Regions from separate parts of the Homo sapiens genome. Here all the other regions are linked to region 1. The links are contacts of gene promoters, found by promoter capture Hi-C in blood cells and fetal thymus (Javierre and others, 2016). All regions are on one chromosome and are shown on one strand. Each heading gives the region's core, a stretch centred on a gene start or on the middle of the fragment in contact. The rest is flanking DNA. Distances are from core to core; before and after follow the strand shown. Region 1 holds the start of HEG1 (heart development protein with EGF like domains 1). Region 2 overlaps ZNF148 (zinc finger protein 148). Region 3 overlaps ZNF148 (zinc finger protein 148).

Evidence for each region. Contacts are between HindIII fragments. The CHiCAGO score rates a contact against its expected background, and 5 or more counts as called.
Region 2: a contact is called between a fragment that was not itself captured here and the fragment with the promoter of HEG1 in region 1, in 3 of 17 cell types (naive CD8 T cells, total B cells and activated CD4 T cells). The highest score is 6.8, in naive CD8 T cells.
Region 3: a fragment that was not itself captured here is called in contact with the fragment with the promoter of HEG1 in region 1 in 2 of 17 cell types (naive CD4 T cells and activated CD4 T cells); the score reaches 6.3 in naive CD4 T cells.

What each region holds. Positions count from the first base shown.
Region 1 is chr3:125,054,307-125,057,459 of GRCh38, forward strand. It overlaps HEG1 (heart development protein with EGF like domains 1), which reads right to left and starts at 1,691. Exons shown (of 17, transcript NM_020733.2): 1 at 1,269-1,691. The coding sequence starts at 1,584. RefSeq lists silencers at 1,185-1,344, 1,405-1,494, 1,575-1,954 and an enhancer at 2,205-2,254. The HindIII fragment of the contact is 2,339 bases long and covers 1-2,304 here.
Region 2 is chr3:125,347,278-125,350,430 of GRCh38, forward strand. All of the region lies in intron 1 of ZNF148 (zinc finger protein 148), which reads right to left. Among named protein-coding and RNA genes, the nearest start is that of ZNF148, 26 kb to the right of the region's middle. The HindIII fragment of the contact is 843 bases long and covers 1,034-1,876 here.
Region 3 is chr3:125,318,250-125,321,402 of GRCh38, forward strand. All of the region lies in intron 3 of ZNF148 (zinc finger protein 148), which reads right to left. Among named protein-coding and RNA genes, the nearest start is that of ZNF148, 55 kb to the right of the region's middle. The HindIII fragment of the contact is 1,342 bases long and covers 1,001-2,342 here.

The DNA.
Region 1 (3,153 bases), core at 441-2,940:
CGGTTTCTCAATCTTATGCCAGTGATTTAAAAATTCACAAAATAAGGCATTTTGCGATAATGGGAATACTGTTGAATATGAAATTGAGTTTTTACAGGAGAACTTGATTTTTAAAAATCCAAACTTTTTCTTATTTAACTCTAAGAAGCACCTCTAGGTTGGAGGAAGCAAGCTAATTCACGTGCCAGAAAGTCTGCATGAGATGAGAAACTTAAATGAATTGTCAATTATGCAGACAAAAAACTCAACTTTCAGGGAAACTCCAAATCAATGTCCAGTGTTGCAAGCAACCCAGCTTATTTGAATAGCCCGGACAGAGCATATGCCCTGTGTCACTCACAGGAAGGCAAAGGCTAACACCACCACGTTGCTGACTTTGTTCAAAGCACTTTCCATTTATTTTTACTTTCATTTTGTCACATCATCACTAGGAGGCTAGAAGGAACAGGGATCATCACTTTCATTTCACAGATGGAGAAAGTGAGCGCAAAGAGACAGCAGTCCCAAGGTCATAATGGTATTATGGTTAGAATTCCACTCAGTATGTGGCATATTTTTCCAGATCATAAGAAAGAACTGGACACAAAGGTAGCAGGGAGAAGAGGTCAGTTCCTTCTCTCTGCGTGGGACAGGCGGTGGCTACCACGGAGCAACAGTTCATTGGGAAAGGAAAGGGGAGGGAGGAGGCTCAGGGATGGTCCTGTATCAGCCTGTGCCTTGCAGGGGTTCAACCATGCAACCCCAACCGCGTTCCTTTGCTTTTAAGTCGAACCAGTAGAGCGTTTTGTTTCAAACTACGTACATCCTTTGTCCTTTACAATATCCCGTCCTAGAACCCCTTAAAAATCAGTTATTTAGATGAGAAAGTCGAGCCCTGTACCTGGAGAGGCCAGTTCTGTATAGCGGAAAAAATGAAACTGGGGACCGGCTGGCCAGATATCGGAGGTGGGAGAGATGCTTTGCAGTCTTTTTCCCTTTCCTTTCCATTTTTTTTAAAGTGGGGTGGAAGAGATACAGGGTACCCCATAGGAAATAAGTTTTCTTCCAAAGGGTTGGAGGAGAACGGGATAGTCACACCCCTCAGTCCAGCCAACTGCGAAAGCGTCCCTCCCTACCCGCCGACCCTCAGGGTCCCGCACACGCCGGGCGAGGAGCCCCCACCCTGGGTCGCGCCGCGCGGAGGGGCCTACGGCTGGGGATGCAGCCCGGGGCGCGCCCACGCCCCCAGCACAGACTGGCCAGGCGCCAGGTTCCCGGCTCTCACTCACCCGCGCTCCCGCCTCTGGGGGCCCGGCCGGAGGGTCCCCGCTGTGTCGCGGCGCCTGGCTCAGGGGCCCTGTAGCTGGGGCCGGGGGTCGCGGGCCCGCGGCGCTCCCGGGGCGGCGTGGGCGGCGGCTCGCGCTCCGGGCGGCGCTCCAGCTGCAGCTCCAGCCCCGCTCCCGCGAGGGGCGCCAGGCTCAGCGCGCGGCGAGCCGGGGAAGGCGGCGGGTCCCGCGTCCCGGGGGCCGCCGGCGGCAGCAGCAGCAGCGGCAGCAACAGCAGCAGGAGCGGCGGCGGCCACCGCGAGGCGCGCGGCGAGGCCATGGTGACGGCGCCCGCCCGCGCTCACATGCCCGGCGCGCGGGGCGAGGGCAGCGGGCAGCGGGCAGCGGGCGGCGGGGGCCGCGCGGGGCCGGGGAAGTGAGCGGAGTGAGGCTGCGAGCGCGCTCCCCGCCTCAAAAGTTATCGGGAGCCGCGGGAGGGCTGCCGGGGGCCGGGCTGGCTGGGCGGAGGCGGCCCGCGGCGCCGCTACATGCTAATTAGCCCGGGCGGGTCGCTGGCTGGCGGGCGGCTCCTCCTCAGTTGACATCACCGGCCCCGCGCGGCGGGCCCGGAGGCGGGGAGAGGGCAGGAAGGGGGCTGGGGCCGGGCGCCTGGAGAGCGGCCCGGCCCGGGACAGCGGGATGAGGTCAGCGGAGCCACGGTGCTGCAACTTTTGTCACACACATGCTCCAGAGTCTTCTGAATCGGGCACCACCTACCCAACTCCTTAAACGCACAAGAAGTAGGTGAAAAGCAGGTCCTGGGTAATGTGATTAGCACCAGACTAGATTATCCCAAGTGCTTTGATAGGAGAGAGAAAGGGAACGGTCCCCTGGTACCCAGCCCGCGCTGTCACCGCCGTTATTGATTTGAAGTGTCCCCACTCCCACCCCCACCTCCCCTTCTTCAGGCCCCAGGGCTGGTGATGAGCTCGTGTTTGCCAAACCTAACACCTCACCCTCCGGCCAACGCGAGAATCCGAGTATCCCCCACGCCCTCTCAAGCTTGGATGCCGTTCCCATCCGACCACTGCCTTTGGCTCACACCAGAGTTCTGCAGAGATGTCACCGCGAGGACACCCAAACAGGCTGCAGGGAAAAGAAAACTGTGAATTCAGGCAGGCTAGGGCAAACTCATCATCAGGAAAAGAACTGCAGATCGCAAATTAAACCAAATGATGCCCAGAGAACACAGAATTTTAAATGGAAACCTATGGGGAAAGATTCAAAGATTTCATGTAAACAAATTTTCTTGGTCAATAAAGTTCCATTTGTTTCCATAACCTCTCCCTCCCCAGTAAATGAATAATAAACTGTCTAAAGTTTAGGACTGTAAGCCACCTCATTAAGTGAAGAAAGAGGGGCTCAAATGGGAAAATAACTTGCTCAAGATTCTGAAGGTAGACCCGAAGACGAAATGATTGATCTGTGAATGACCATGTGATATTATTAATTCTGGTCTCCTAATTCAGAGTTTGCAATAATTCGCAAACGGAAACAAATAGTATTGCAACAGAAACAAATGTTGCAGCTCCTTGGGGTTCTTGCGAGTTCTGTTGGGGGCCCCTGTCTGACAACCAAATGCTCGTGAAAATATGAGTATGCACCTCACTGTCAGGCCTGGCTCTCCATCCTATTTCTCTGCTCTTCTCTTTTTCTCTGTCTCCAGATCTCCATGACCCACCTCCAGGAGAATGAGATCGTAGTGTCCAGGGCAGCTGCAGATGGGCCTAGGCCCACTTTCTGGTGACTCAGTACAAGTGAGTCATTTGGCAGAAAAACATAAAGGAGGCTGTGTATAAACAAACTCACCTTAAATGAGAGAATGAGGAGTAAAGATTTGGTTTTATTT
Region 2 (3,153 bases), core at 205-2,704, 290 kb after region 1:
TTCAGTGCAACTCATATCAAAACCCCAGAACCTTTCTTTGCAGAAATGGACAAACTAATGCTAAAATTCATATGGAATTGCAAAGGACCAAGAAAATCCAAAACGATCTTGAAAGAAAAGAACAAAGTTAAAGGATGCATACATTCTGATTTTAAAACTAACAAAGCTACAGTAATCAAGACACTGTGGTACTGGCATGAAGATAAACATATAGATCAAGGAATAGAATTTAGAGTCCAGACTTAAATAACTAAATTTATGGTCAATCTTTTTTGTTAAATTTTATGTATTATTTTTTTTTTTTTTCTGAGACAGGGTCCCACTCTGTCACCCAGGCTGGAGTGCAGTGGCACGATCTCAGCTCACTGCAAACTCCACCTCCTGGGTTCAAGTGATTCTCCTGCCTCAGCCTCCTAATTTTATGTATTCTTTTTATAGAGGTGGGGTCTCATTATGTTGCCCAGGCTGGACTCGAACTCCTGGGCTCAAAGATCCTCCTATCTCAGCCTCCCAAACAGCTGAGACTACAGGAGTGTGCCCACTGCACCAGGCTAAGTCAACCAATTTTTTGACACCAAGACAATTCAGTAGAGAAAGAAGTCTTTTCAACAAACCAGTGCTAGAACCAAGGAATATCTACATGCAAAAGAATGAAACTGGATACCTTCATCATCCCATATACAAATATTAACTCTAAATGGATTAAAGACCTGGCTCAGTGGCTCATGCCTGTTATCCCAGCAAACGCAGGTGGATCATTTGAGCCCAGGAGCTTGAGACCAGCCTGGGCAACATGGCAAAACGTCATTTCTACCAAAAAAAAAATACAAAAATTAGCTGGGCGTGGTGGCATGTGCCATAGTCCCAGCTACTCGGGAGGCTGTAGCTGGAGGATTGCTTGAGCCTGGGAGATCAAGGCTGCAGTGAGCCTTGATCGTGCCACTGCACTCCAGCCTGGGTGACAGAGCAAGACCTTGTCTCCAAGAAAAAAAAAATTAGTTAAATGAATTAAAGACCTATAAGTAACAGGTGAAGCTTCAAAAGTGTCACAAGAAAAGTCTAGTGTGGTGGCGCATACCTATAGTCCCAGCTACTCAGGAGGCTGAGACAGGAGGATCACTCGGGCCCGAGACGCCAAGGTTGCAGTGAGCTGTGATAGCACCACTGCACTCCAGCCCAGGAAAAAAAGCAAGACCCTGTCTCAAAAAAAAAAAAAAAAAAAAAGCTATCCAACAGCAACAGCATCAAAAACAATACTTAAACTTAACTAAGGAGGCAAAGACTTGTATGCACTGAAAACTACAAAACACTGATGAAAGAAATTGAAGACACAAATAAATGGAAACACATCCCATGTTCATGGATTAGAAGACTTAATGTTAAAATGTCCATACTACTCACAGCGATGTACAGATTCAATACGATCTCAATGAAAACCCCAATGGCATTTTTTACAGGAATACAAAAACAATCCTAAAACCCAAACAGAACCACAAAAGCCCCCGAATGTAGCCAAAACAATCTTGAAAAAGAACAACAAAGCTAAAGGCCTCACACTTCCTGATTTCAAAACACATTAAAACAGTATGGTACTGGCATAAAAACAAAACATACAGACCAATGGAACAGAACAGAAAGCCCAGAAATAAACCCAGGCATACAGAGGCAACTGATCTTCAAGAAAGGTGCCAAGAATCCACAACAGGAAAAGAACAGTCTCTTCAATAAATGGTACTGGGAAATCTGGGCAGCTATATGAAAAAGAATTGAAGTTTGACCCTCATTTTACACCATACATAAAAGTCAACTCAAAATAGATTAGAAACTTTAATAAGGCCTGAAACTGTAAAACTCCTAGAAGAAAACATGGGAGAAAAGCTTCATGGCACAGCCATGATTTCTAGGATTTGACACCAAAAGCACGGGCAACAAGCGTAAAAACAGACAAGTGAGATTACATCAAACTAAAAAGCTTCGCAGAGCAAACAGATCAATCAACAGAGCAACTAGGCAACTTATGAAATGGGAAAAAATATTTGCAACTACACATCTGCTAAGGGGCTAAAATCCACAATATACAAGGAACTCCTACAACTCAATAGCAAAAAATAACAAATAGCCTGCTTTTCAAATGGGAAAAGGACCTGAAAAAATATTTATTCAAAGACAACATACACAAGGCCAACAGGTATATAAGCAGATGCTCACCATCAGTAATCATCAGGAATATGCAAATCAAAACCACAATGAGATACCATCTCACACCAGTAAGAATGGCTATTATTAAAAATCATAAACTAACAGATGTTGGTGAGGCTGTGAAGAGAAGGGAACACTTAAATATTGCTGGTGGAAATGTAAATTAGTTCAGCCACTGTGGAAAACAACTTCAAGATTTCTCAAAAAACTTAAAACAGGCCAGATGTGGTGGTTTACACCTGTAATCCCAGCACTTCAGGAGGCTGAGGCAGGAGGATCACTTGAGTCCAGGAGTTTGAGGTTGCAGTGAGCTATGATCTCACCACTGCACTACAGCTCAGATGACAGAGCCAGACCCTGTCTCAAAAAACAAACAGACTTAAAACAGAGCTACTATTTGACCCCACAATCCCATTACTGGGTGTATATCCAAAAGAAAGAAATCATTATACCAAAAAGATACATGAACTTGTATGAACAACCATTATCCAAAAATAACAATAACAAGTATTGGCAAGGATGGAGAAATTGTAAACCCTGTGTACTGTTCATAGGAATGCAAAATGGTGCATAATATTTTTTTTAAAGTTCAGAGGTTCCTCACAAAACTAAAAATAGAACTACTGTATGTTCCAGAAATCCCACTTGTGCATATTTATCCAAAAGAATTGATAATGGGTTTTGGTTTTGTTTTGTTTTTTGAGACAGAGTCTCACTCTGTCACCCAGACTACAGTGCAGTGGCGCAATCTCGGCTTACTGCAATCTCCCGTCTCCTGGGTTCAAGTGATTCTCCCAACTCAGCCTCCCAAGTAGCTGAGACTACAGGCATGTGTCACCAGGCCCATCTAATTTTTTTTTGTATTTTTATTAGAGACAGGGTTTCACCATGTTGGCCAGGCGGGTCTCAAACTCCTGACCTCAAATGACCCGCCTGCCTTGGCCTCGGCCTCCC
Region 3 (3,153 bases), core at 422-2,921, 260 kb after region 1:
TCCTCTAATTTCATTATTTTTAGGGAGGATCAGCCAAGTGTAAAGAAAGAAAACTGAGGTAATCAAGCCACACTAATATGTAAATAATTAACTGTCTCTTCCTGTTAACTCCTCAAAAAGCCAACTGCTTTCTAATCCAAATGTGTGTATAATTAATGGAAAGTCAGGGGCTAGGGATACTACACAGAAGAGAGGAGGAAAGAAAGAATGCTTCCTTTAAATCTTATTACTCACATGGAAGACTGATTTGGAAGGGAAAAAAAAACTAAACAATTAATTTCAGCTTCAAGGAACCTCTATCCAACTGGAAAGAAAAGAAAATACGTGGAGTAATAAGCCACTCTGAGCTCCCTGTGAAGACCCTTTATCTTGTAGAGACCTTAGGCAGCTGACACCACAGAGTACAAAATGGCAGCGCTGTTAAGAACCAAGACAGACTGGAAAATGATGTCCAAGGGCTAATTCAGCTAAGAGTGAGAGGCAATCCTTCCTCTGCACTGCAAGTTACCCAGAGCAGAGAATGATGAAAACTACAACGGAGCAGGAAAGAGAAAGGAAGGAGACCAACTCAGGCCAATTTCTCCTAAATCTCCCTTTCGCAGATTACTTCAAATTCTGCATTCTTCCCCCGCTTCCATGATTTATTCTTCCCTCATCACCATCCCTCTGCGAGAGAAACTGTCTACAGGGGTATCTAGGGGGCCACAACACAACTTCCAGTTCCATTAAATTTCCCCTCCCTGCTCCCACTCCCAACCCCCCCACACACCTAACATCCTTCCTATTGACACGTGTTTAGTTCAGCTGTGTAAAAGCCTAACTGCAGTGGCTTAGGTAACCCTCTAGTCATTTAAGCCTAGTGGCAGAGGGCTACTTAAAAAGAACGTAAATTATCTGCCATTACCTTTCTCCTGTCTACCAGAAGAAATAGCTGACTCTTCTTGTGGTCACCTTCTAATTTAATGTTTCTAATCAATTATGTGTAAGTAATTAAAAACTAAGCTTTATAGATTTATATTAAGTTGAAACAGAGTAAACAGTTTTCGGTCGGGGCTTTTAATAAGGAATTAAATACATAGGCTTTTAATACAAATGTTTTTGACAATTATGTCCAAAACTCGGGGAACTGTCTGGGCTCATCTTCAGAGGACAAAGTTAACAGAAGCATTACAAATGGACAAGTTGGGCACTACTACTCATTTTTAATCAAATATACAAGGCTCTTAAAAATGCTTGCTTGTTCTACAAGGGTCAATTAAAAACTGGGAAAAAAATGCTTGCTGAGGTTTTTTGTAATGGGAGTTTTATACAATTAATGAGGTCTTTCCAAATTAATATGTTTATGTCTGTATTCTAAAATTCAGAAATTATGAAAACCTGGAGAGGAAAGACAACTAATGTGTGCTGAGATGTAAGACACTGTGCTGGGCACCTTTAAATATATTACCTTACTTAATATTTACAATAACCCTCAAGACAGTAACAGCATATCCCCATTTAACAGACAAATTGGGGCTTACCCAAGGATACATAGCTCAGAAGTAAACTGGGATTTCAAACCAGACTTACCTGACTCAATGCACTTTTTACCTTATCACACTATTTCCTGACTTTAAAAGGCCCTGGACACATTAGGAAGTAGTTGAACTCTCATTGTCCTCTCACCACCTGCTCTTAAGGCCTTCTGTCATCATTGCTTGGCTTGGCAAAGCAATCAAACTGTCCTTAGCTGACTACTCCACCTCATGGCTACTATGGGAGAACTTTCCGACACAGAATCCCCTTTTCTCCTGTGGGAGGATTCAACACTTTCCACGTTTTCTATTTTCCAATTTTCTATCTGTTACTCATATCTCAGTGAATTTCTCCTCAGCCATTCTTTCTTTTTCATGTGTTTAAATGTATCTTCTTAAGCTACCTTCCTCCCTCTGTTTTCTCAAAGCCTTACCAGGAAAATCTCTCTACCTTCCCATTCCAATTGAAAATTTAAAAATAATCCTAAATATGGCTAATAAATGTAAAACCAGTCAGTCCTAATGATACACCTGTATCAAAAAAAGAGGGCTGTACATTTTAAAATGAAAACAGATTTGAAGGCTTGTGCTATATGCTCTAAAATTTTTTAAAGCACCAAGTTCCCTTTCTGAATGTATATGAACATCCATGTGTCACTTATTACCTTTAATTAATCTGCATTTGAGCATGAAAGAAATAAATATTTCTCACTTAGAGATCCTACGTTTCTGTTTCATTTATTGAGTTTGGTAGTAATATTATTTTCCATAAACTTTTTTGAATAATATGGAACTTCAACTATGAGTCAAAGCAGGTTATAATAGGCAAGCTTCTGAACCTAATCATCATCGTCTTTTGTATAAAAAGAGTAATTCCCAACTTAAAATATTCTCACAAATTCAGTAATACCTCTTCCCCTGACTTTGTAACAGAACCCATTCAATCTAAAATGAAACTTCACTTGTAAGCCAAGAGAAGCACTCAAAGGAACTTGTTCTGAAAACAGGTAAAAGAAAAAAGCTAGATTTCACAAATTACTTCTGATCCAAAGCACTCTGTTATTTGGAGGATGCCAGTTACATTAACTTGGATATTAACATTTCTAACCTATGTTTCTAACCGTGAGAAATTATACCTTAAAAATATCAGCATTAGAAATACAAATATCAACCGGCCTCCAGATCATTTGGTGAGATGAAACCCATGATTAATACCAGAACCTTTAACAAATTTGCTATTTGTTATTCTGAAGAAGTTTTGTATTTGCTTTCATCCTTGAAAAGTATAGTTTTGATCTAAGCAGAAACTACTTCATCTCTTATTAATAAAACAAAATCTATTTCTTGTCTAAGTACATTCAAAGACCTCTTCAGATATACCTCTGTATAACTACCATTTTGTATCTATAAAACATATCTTCTAAACCATGTTAATTTTTAAAGTACTACTATTTCAAAATATCCTAATAGGAACATCATTTATAATAATGGTAACTGGACAAAATGGTCTCTGATCAGTGCTAACAAGAAAGGATGTTTAAACAAATATCTATTTCAATAGCTGCTAACACAAGTATTAATCAGAAAACTTACACGTTAACAATAATCATTTTATATGACTTTAAAAACCTAAAAGCTT